Linked DNA regions of Homo sapiens: regions 2 and 3 are each linked to region 1. The links are contacts of gene promoters, found by promoter capture Hi-C in blood cells and fetal thymus (Javierre and others, 2016). All regions are on one chromosome and are shown on one strand. Each heading gives the region's core, a stretch centred on a gene start or on the middle of the fragment in contact. The rest is flanking DNA. Distances are from core to core; before and after follow the strand shown. Region 1 holds the start of PARP8 (poly(ADP-ribose) polymerase family member 8). Region 2 holds the start of MOCS2 (molybdenum cofactor synthesis 2). Region 3 overlaps ITGA1 (integrin subunit alpha 1).

Region 1 (3,018 bases), core at 201-2,700:
TCAGAGTATCTGAAATCTGAAACAGAAAGTCCCGTCAAAAGCTACCCCTGGAGTGGATTTGTTTTAACCCCGATCAGGACTTGAGCCCCACATTCGGTGGTGTCAGGGGAGGCCTGGCCGGGCAGAAGGCAAGGGCTAGAGGGCGGCGAGGTCCCTCTGCGCCGCGTCCGAGGGGATGCGGCGCGCCCCCGACTGGGTGCAGCGGGAGGCCGCCCCCCGCAACAAGTGCCGGGTGCCATGGCAACAGCGGGAATTTCCCGATAGGGGAGGCCGGAAGCAGCCTCAGCCGGGCTCGCGGTAGCGAAAGCAAAATCCCGGGGGAGCAAAATGGACGAAAGGCGACCCCCAGGCAGGGGCGCTGGGTGCCTTGGGAATCCGAGGAATCCCTTCTCTTTGCCAGTCGGAGGGGACTAGAGGGAGCCGAAGGGGCCGGAGATGGGCCGAGCGCTGCCCCCCGGGGGTCCTCGGCGCCGGGCGCAGCTTACAAGCGCAGCGCAGCGCAGCAGGCTCCATTCCCGGCCGCCGCCGCTCAGCCCATTGCGCAAACCAACCCCGCTCTGCCGCCGCTGCTGGAACCCAGGAAGCGTGCTTGGAGGCTTCGGGCACTACGCGGGGCTGGAAATACCACGCACTGCCCCTTCGCCTAGACCCCCGCTCCGGCCACGCGGGCTCTGCCCTCAAAGCTGGTGGCTGCCTCAGACTTGGCGGTGGGGGAGGGGAAGGGGAGAGGCTGGCGCCCCCTCCCCCTTTTGGCTCCCGCGCTCGTTGCAGCAGCTGTTGCCAAATGAACCCCAGAATGGGGACGTGCAACCCTCCACCCCACCCCCAGCCACAGACGTCGCGGTCAGAAAACTGGGAAGGGGGCGCTGGGTCCGAGGTTCTGGAAAAGCAAGAACTCACCTGCAAACAGGCAGTCCTTCTCAGCTCTGGACTTCTGGATCACGACGTCGATATCCTTCTGAATTCGCTCTTGCCTTGAACACATCCCCATTAAATAAATCCCTGGAAAAGAAGCAGCCGCTATTTCCACCCCACCCCACCCCCCTCGCACGCTTCCAGCTTTCGTAAATATTCAGTTAAAAATGAAACCTCTGGCCGAGGCAGGGGCTGAAGGCGAAGTGGTTTCGGAAGTGATCCTGGGTGAGAGAAGAGGAGGAGGAGGAGGGGGAGGAGGAGGAGGAGGGGGAGGTCGGCTTTGCATTCCCAGATGTGACCGCCCAGCTGCTGCTCGCCGCTGCTGGATTCCAATTTCCTCCCCTTCTGACAATGGATGGTGATGACACCAAGTCTCACTTTCTCCCTCACCCGCCCGGACCAACGGCCGTGGGGGCCGAGGTGCCGGGGACAGCCAGAGAGCAATCACCGGCTGGGCGGCGGGCGCCGGCGAGGGGCGAGCCCCGCTCCGGCTCACGCGCGCACACCCCTCACGGCTCGCACGCCGGCCTTCCACACCCGCGCACACTCGCGCCCGCGGGCGGCGGCAGCCGTGCCCAGGCTGCTGCAGCGCCGCCCGCCCGCCGCAGACCCTCCGCGCCCGCCGCCTAGTCACCCCGCCGGCCGCGGGCTGCCGGGGCTCGCAGAGTATTAGCCATCCCGGGCGGGAGCCGCTTCTCCCCACACCGACCTCCACTCGCGCCGGGAGCTGAGCGGTCGTGAAGACTCCCTGGGGCTCCCAGCCTTCCCTCTCCGCGCCCCTCCCCCCATCACTTTTATGAATTCGACTCCACTTTCTAAAGGAATTATAGTCTTGTGGCAAACCCAAACCGGAGTGGCTGGGAGGGGGAAAAGGGGGGAAAAGAAAATCTTTAAAAATTAAAAAAATAATAAAACGAACAAATCTTTCCTTATTGCCACATCACATAACACGGAAAAGGCCTTAAAATTACTCCAGACGTGCACCCTCCCCTTCCCTCAGTGCCTGAGTCTTTTTCCTCCAGATCGAAGTAGTTCAGCCCTTTTGGGGCGCCGTTTACGAAACACAGCCCCTTTTGAGGGACTTCCTCCTCTTGAAACTCACCAGTTCTCCCTTCCTAGGTGTTTCTGTTCATGAGAAATGGTCAGAATCAACTGGCACGTTCCAGGGTCTTCCTAAAAGATGGAAACCTGTTTGGCTTGATTTTTAAAACCACCTCCTTTGACAGTCAAGGGAAAGCTACAATCCAGGTGTTCAGAAATGAGATACTGCTCTGATTCTCACTTTCTGTTCTGCCTAAGGACACCCCAGGCTGACGTAGCTGCCCCACCTCTATATTGGTTTATGCCCTAGGAGAGGTCTCCAGCAGGCACTTTTCTTGTTGATCTTTTCTCCACTGAGAAGGCTCCCGCCAGTAGACCATGACTCCTTTTGCTTTGCATACTCAGTGCCATGTACAGTGCCTGGAATACAGGAGGGTGGCCTAAATGTTGGCTGAATGCACGAATGGTCATTTCTTGCAGCCTCTTTTCATTACCCTGTCTCATCACTTTTCTTATCAGCATAAGTGCCCAAGAGTTGCCAAACTGTTTCAGACCCTTAATCAATTTAGTTCTGATTCTGACCGTGACAACATGATGTTCAGCACGGTAGGAATGACTGCCATCCCTGAAGGAGTCTTAAGATTCTGTAGAATCAATGAAAGATCCTATGTTCTAACTCCTTTATCTTTCAGGAAACAAATTACAAAATAATTTCCTTGTCCAGTCATATTCACTATGAGTTACAAAAGGAAACATTCTGCATTATTGAGATCCACTGCAGCCTTTGATGTAGTAAAGCCACAGTCACAACAGTCTATATCTCCTGCTCAGTCCTCTCCTGAAATGCTTCCTGTTTAGGGTAGGACAGGTTCAAGCCCTTTGTCCTTCCTGGATATGTTGCTTTGTGTAGGCCCTTTGGCTGCCAAAAATGCTCTCTTCTCTTCCACATCACCACTGAGAATCATGAGTATTTCTTCTTCCATTATGTGCTTTAATTTCTCTGAAAGGCTGAAAGTCTATTAACTCACAAGAATTTATTTTATAGTTATCTAGCCACAAGGC
Region 2 (3,018 bases), core at 519-3,018, 2.4 Mb before region 1:
CATAATTGATATCTTAGTTTTACGTTTGAATGGGTTAAAATCTCAATGCCAGTTTTTTTAGTTTTTCATTTTTCCCATATTAATACCTTTATTGCTGAGTTATTTACTTTGATTACTCTTGATTGAGTGGACTTTTTGCCCAAGAAAGATTTTTAAGAAGGGTTCTTGGGTATTGTGTTTTTTGAGTTTTTGCTGATTTAGGAGAATCCTGCCCCACCAGTTTGGCTGTAATATTATGGGATCATGCTTTTGTTCTCAGCCTTTTTTACACACTGCACATTGCCATCAGATGCCACTGAGGAGTCTAAGGCCACTATTGTCATTCCCTTGTTTTTATGCCTGGGTGTGAATATAGTCTTTATCCTTTATGTTTAGCAACTTTACCAGGATACACATTGGTATTCATTGCTCCTTGTCAATTTTTCCTACCAAGGACTCTCCAGCCTCACTTCTCATCACCTCCTTTGCTGGAGGCACACCTGCCTTGCCAACTACTTGCCCTTCTGTGAACTTATTATGCTTCTTCATATCCCTGTGGCTTGTCAGAGGCAAGTGAAATTTCTTCGTGCTCTACTCCCACTCTTGTCATTTACTGCCACCATTCTAGCAGATTTACCTTCTCAGCATCTTCTCACTCCCCAGGTGACACAACCACTTTCCCCTTCCACCCTTGAAATGTAACACAGATCCTTAGTATTACAGGGAATTATCATTCATATTTAAAACTCTCCTACCCAGGACTGTGAGCTCCAAGGAAAGGGACGTGTAACTTACATCCACTTAACGACGCAAGCAATTTAAAGCCAAGAGTTCTTGTTGGCAAGAATTGGGAAAGTTGGACGGACAGTATACAATTACCGAGCAGCCAATAAACAGGAAAAGTCATACAGTTCGAATGTTCTGACCAGGCGGATATTCTGTCTTTAAGAAACACTAATCATATACCTGGGAAAGAAAAAAATCTTGGGCCCCTTCAAACTGGGAATTACTCAGGGCAAATCTGCCTCCTATTCTATCCAAGTCACCTCTTTTGCTGACAAAGAATAGATGCATATTCTGATTGCCTCCTTTAGAAAGACTTATCAGAAACTCAAAAGAATGCTACTGTCTATTACCTACCTGGAAGCCCCCAGTTGGGGGGGGCGGGGCTTGCTTTTAACGGTCTCCGCCTTTCTGGAAGGAACTAATGTACTTTTTACATATTGATTGATGTCTCCTGTCTCCCCAAAATGTATAAAACCAAGCTGTGCCCTGACCACCTTGGGCACATGTCCTCAGGACTTCCTGAGGCTGTGTCACGGGCATGTCCTCAACGTTGGCAAAATAAACTTTCTAAGTTAACTGAGACCTGTCTCAAATTTTCGAGGTTCACATACCGTAGGTAAAAGTGTCAGAAGCCTAAAGGTGAGCCAGTGGAAAAGCCTGAAGACCCCTGCAAGGTTATTAGCTAAGCCTCCATAACGCAGGCGGCAAGTGTCCAGGAGTCTGGCGTCTGCTCGCCTGCACCACGACCTCCCTCCTGGGGAGAAGGACATGCATGGTAAGCCATTTCTCCATTTCCATACTGATTGCTTCCTCTCACCACCACGGCCCATCTGCGAAGCAAAACTAATCCTGGCGTGGAACAGGCCGCCTGAGGGAAACAGCTAGAGCCCGGCGCGGGGCGGAGCTGGTTGTGCGCATGCTCCGTGCAGGCGCAGGCGGGGGCTGAGCGCCGTCGGGTTACGCCTGCGCTCCGGGTGAGCCCGCGCCTGCGCCTTTGCGGCCGTGATTCGGTCCCGCTGTCCTAGGCGGGATGGTGCCGCTGTGCCAGGTAAGGGTGGCGGGTGTGCGTGCGGGCCTGGGTGCGGAGCCCTCCTCGACGTGTCTCTCCCGCCCTTTCCCTCCACATACCCAGCCTTGGTCAGTCGGACCTCCCCACTAGCCCCCAACCTGGCCGGCGTCTTGGGTTCGGGGGCGCCCCCGCCCCCGCCCCCGGGCCCTTCCTGTCTCCGGGCTTTACTGCGACTGCCCCAGCAGAAGTCGGGTCCTCTCCGAGAACTCTTGTCAGCTCACGGCAGCAAGGACGGACTCGTTCTGAAGGCGCCTCCACCTTTTATGACCACCTCTTTCCCAGATTATTCGTTTTGATGAAGCTAAAATTTTAATCTAAAAAGAAATGCACCTCATGGAGAATTCTTGTGAAGAACTGTGCTTCATCTGTGGATTTCTACACCCTTGATCATTTGCAAACCTGTAATTATTTCGTAAAGAGTTGTTTGCACGGAGTGACAGGTGCCTATTTTACTTCGTCGGATCCCTTACATACCAGGCTGCTGGCACAAGTTTGTTCTAGCAAATTCCAGTCTGTCGTGTGTTTCAAACCTACTTGCTTCTGTAAATGTCAGATTTACTATGTTGCATAACTTAATCCTTAGCGTCTGGGGACGATGTTATACAGACCGGAATCTAAGGTCATTTGACAACCGTGAGAAACAGGTTTTTCGCTTATTTATTCATTTATTTTATTTGTGTAACTCATCTCTTGACTCAAACATTTGTTCTTTGCTTACATATTTATAAAAGGTGCTATACTTTTATGTCAATTAAGGCAGGCTTAACATGTTTTCCTAGAAGATAAATACTTAGGATTTTAATGATGGCACACTTAAGTTTGTAAAACTAAAAGGCATCCAGAAATTAGTCTGAATTGTATTTAAAACAACAAGTTTTCAGAATTTGAACTTGTAGGTATACTGAAATTTTTTACGGGTTATTTAATTTTCTTTATAAAATTTGTCTTTGATTAAAGCAATACATTTGGAAAATGAGAAAACTGCTCAACATTGACAGTCAGAAAACGAGTATGAGTTGTTATTAAAAGCATTTTCTTTACTTTCAGGTTGAAGTATTGTATTTTGCAAAAAGTGCTGAAATAACAGGAGTTCGTTCAGAGACCATTTCTGTGCCTCAAGAAATAAAAGCGTTGCAGCTGTGGAAGGAGATAGAAACTCGACATCCTGGGTAGTTAAAAATTTG
Region 3 (3,018 bases), core at 284-2,783, 2.1 Mb before region 1:
TATCTAAGAATTTTAAATTTACAATGAACCATTATAAAAAGGCCTTGACCTTCTCCACATTTCCTACCTACTTGCCCGTTTCCCATTATATTTTACTCTGACCTAGGGAAAGTACAGGATCAGAGATAAAGGTGAAAATGATTCCCAGAAAGACAGGAAAAATTTGAACTTATTAAGCTCTATTAAGTTTTAGATAAGGAGTTAGGCCCAGAGTGAGAAATTTACTGTGGTGATAACAGACTCATTCTCTTGAAAACCTACTAGTGTATTTAATGAGGCAGATAGTGAATTTTGCATCAGTCTTCGCACTTTCCCACATTCCACATGCTATCCCATTTTCTTCCAGTTCAGGCTGAGAACACACTGACACACAAAGGGTCAGAGAACTATTCCCAGAGTTCATTCCTCCTCATAAAATAGATTGTGGTTTTTTTCTCCCTTCTGCAGAAAATGTTCTTTCCTTCTACCATATCCAATCCATGTTGGCCATTTAGTAAAATGAACAACTTAAGAGAGAAGTTATTTTTGTTTGTTAAAGGTGTTTTCCTGAGTTTTACAACGAAAGATAAAATGTTGAATATAAAAATAGAAAAGACCCCGGTGGGTCTTTCTAGTGTCCAGCCCCAGGGCCTTCCCCAGGCCCCAGCTAGCTCCTTGTCACTTCTTTATTCCTGACTTCAGTCCCCAGGGGTCAGTTTCCCTTTCCCTGAGGTGGCTGTGCCACCAACCAGTTAATCCTGGACATTCTTTCTTCCAGGAATGGCTATGGAAAGGGACAGAATGTCTCAAACTCCCCTGTCACCATCCCCATCTTTGCTGTCCTAAAAACGAAAGAAGCTAAGCTTCCTTTTCTGGTTTAACCAGTCAGTGCTTAGTCATGTAAGAAATGCAGAGGAGACAACAAAAACATGGATACTATTATACAAAGGTTCCACAATCTTTCAGAGTCCTTTCAGTCATGGTCCCTGGTCTGTATTTGATTTTCATTTTCTTATGAGGGTAGGAGGTAATGGAATCTCCTTCTCCATGATGTCTCCTCTCAGGTTTGTTGACTCCACAGTAAATATTTAACATTTAGAGAGATCAGGGATTACAGAGACCACTCTGTAGAAGAAAAATATTACCAAAGTGAAGTTGAGGCCAGGTGCAGTGACTCACGCCTGTAATCCCACTTGGGGAGGACAAGATGGGCAGATCACTTGAGGTCAGGAGTTTGAGACCAACCTGGCCAACATGGTGAAACCCCGTCTCTACTAAAAATATGACAATTAGCTGGGTGTGGTGGCACGCACCTGTAATCCCCAGCTACTGGGGAGGGTGAGGCACGAGAATTGCTTGAACCCAGGAGGCAGAGGGGCAGTGAGCCAAGATCAGGCCACTGCACTCCAGCCTGGGGTATAGAGCAAGACTCTTGTCTCCAAAAAAAAAAAAAAAAAAAGTAAAGTTGAGAGGCCTTAAAAGAGGAATAATCTCAGGTCCCTTCACCTGATCTCTCTAGAAACTAATGGAAGATCAGTGTGGGCTTCTGGAACTTGCCAGTTTAAACTCTGGGAATACCTCCTCACTAAAGCCAGGCTGAGTTAGCCCTCTGAGCTCCCATGTTCCTGTGCCAGATTGCACTGCTATTACTACTGCTTTACCATTCGTTCCCCATTGTAGACTGTGTTTTTTTGCAAGGAAGAGACTGTGATCTTTCTTTACTTCTGATCACTGGGGGCTATTAGAGTCCCTGTCACATAGTAGGTACTTAGTACATGATTTTCAGAAAAATGAAATGGTTCTCAGAAGAAGAAAGGCAGGAAGAGTTCCCTATAGGGAAATATAAATACTCCTCCAAGGAATGAACAAGACTTCAAAACTGAGTTTGAGTCTCAGCAATGCTGCTCAGAGAAAAACTGCCTTGCCACAAGATGATAATTTGATAAATAAGGAGGGTTTAAGGCATTTTTGAATCCTGCATTGTTCCTTGTTCCTCTACCCCAAATGACTCAATATGAATAGGTGACAAAAAGTAGGTGACATTGGAATCAGATATATCAAACAGGAATGTGGACCCTGTGAAAAACTCCTATTGTGTTTGAGCAAGTTACCAACCCTCTCTGGGCTGGCTTAAATCTGTAACATGAAGGAACTAGGTCCGATGATATATAAAGTTCCTTACAGCTTTAACCTCTTATGATTTTAAGTGATTCAGAGCCATGTACTGAAATGTATTTTAAGCTTCCTCTTCAAACTCATCAAACAAAAAAAAAAAAAAAAAAAAAGAAAGAAAGAAAGAAAAAGAAAAAAAGAATTATACCATAGTCAACAACACACTTGGGGAGGAAAAATAAACTATAAATTATGGTCATCAGATCAAATGAGCTGAAACACAAGATTAAAATGTTTTCTATCCACAGAGCAATTTTTCACAATGGTGTCAAACAAAAAGTTCTAGTCAATGTTTACACTAGGACTTGATGAAAAATTCCAGACATAAAACTTCTGGAACGTAGACTTGAACTCAGAAGGACCTCCTATCTCTGAATAAATTGTACAACTAAAATCTATTGGGATTTTTTTCCTTAACAAAAATTCATCCTTCAACAATTATTTGAGTTTTATTACTGAGACTATTAAGGCATAGTAAAACTCTGGTTATCTGGAACAGTCATTCTAGGTATGACAGCTAAAGATTTTTTAAAGTACCACTATTTTTGGATGAAAATCATTGAAAGACATTACATTTATTTGACTTCTTTAACAGAATACACTGAATGTAATTTAATCTTTTCCTCAGTGTGAATACCAGGTACTGGTATTGTCCTCAGTAACATCCTCAAGTCCCAGTGAAATACTCTATAATACTCTAGGCTTTTTTTCTTTTGACAGTGTTTCAGAATCCACTCCCACTATCAGCTGTCACTTTTAACTGCTGTCAATTCTGTCAACTTGGCCACTTGTGGTCATCTCCTGCTGATATCTAATTTCTAGATTAAAGGCAGGGAAAACTGTCTTAATTCATCCTTGCATACCCAG

Evidence for each region. Contacts are between HindIII fragments. The CHiCAGO score rates a contact against its expected background, and 5 or more counts as called.
Region 2: the fragment with the promoter of MOCS2 here is called in contact with the fragment with the promoter of PARP8 in region 1 in 1 of 17 cell types (activated CD4 T cells); the score reaches 5.3 in activated CD4 T cells.
Region 3: a fragment that was not itself captured here is called in contact with the fragment with the promoter of PARP8 in region 1 in 2 of 17 cell types (monocytes and M0 macrophages); the score reaches 6.0 in monocytes.

The regions. Positions count from the first base shown.
Region 1 is chr5:50,665,069-50,668,086 of GRCh38, reverse strand. PARP8 (poly(ADP-ribose) polymerase family member 8) reads right to left here and starts at 1,450. Exons shown (of 26, transcript NM_024615.4): 1 at 901-1,450; 2 at 1-16. The coding sequence starts at 991. RefSeq lists silencers at 326-655, 1,348-1,407, 1,458-1,607 and enhancers at 1-827, 263-1,175. The HindIII fragment of the contact is 4,109 bases long and covers 1-3,018 here.
Region 2 is chr5:53,108,507-53,111,524 of GRCh38, reverse strand. MOCS2 (molybdenum cofactor synthesis 2) reads left to right here and starts at 1,768. Exons shown (of 7, transcript NM_004531.5): 1 at 1,768-2,274; 2 at 2,882-3,003. MOCS2-DT (MOCS2 divergent transcript) reads right to left here and starts at 1,683. Exons shown (of 2, transcript NR_104654.1): 1 at 1,377-1,683. RefSeq lists a silencer at 1,740-2,029. The HindIII fragment of the contact is 4,897 bases long and covers 1-3,018 here.
Region 3 is chr5:52,807,923-52,810,940 of GRCh38, reverse strand. All of the region lies in intron 1 of ITGA1 (integrin subunit alpha 1), which reads right to left. Among named protein-coding and RNA genes, the nearest start is that of PELO-AS1, 8.6 kb to the right of the region's middle. The HindIII fragment of the contact is 1,378 bases long and covers 845-2,222 here.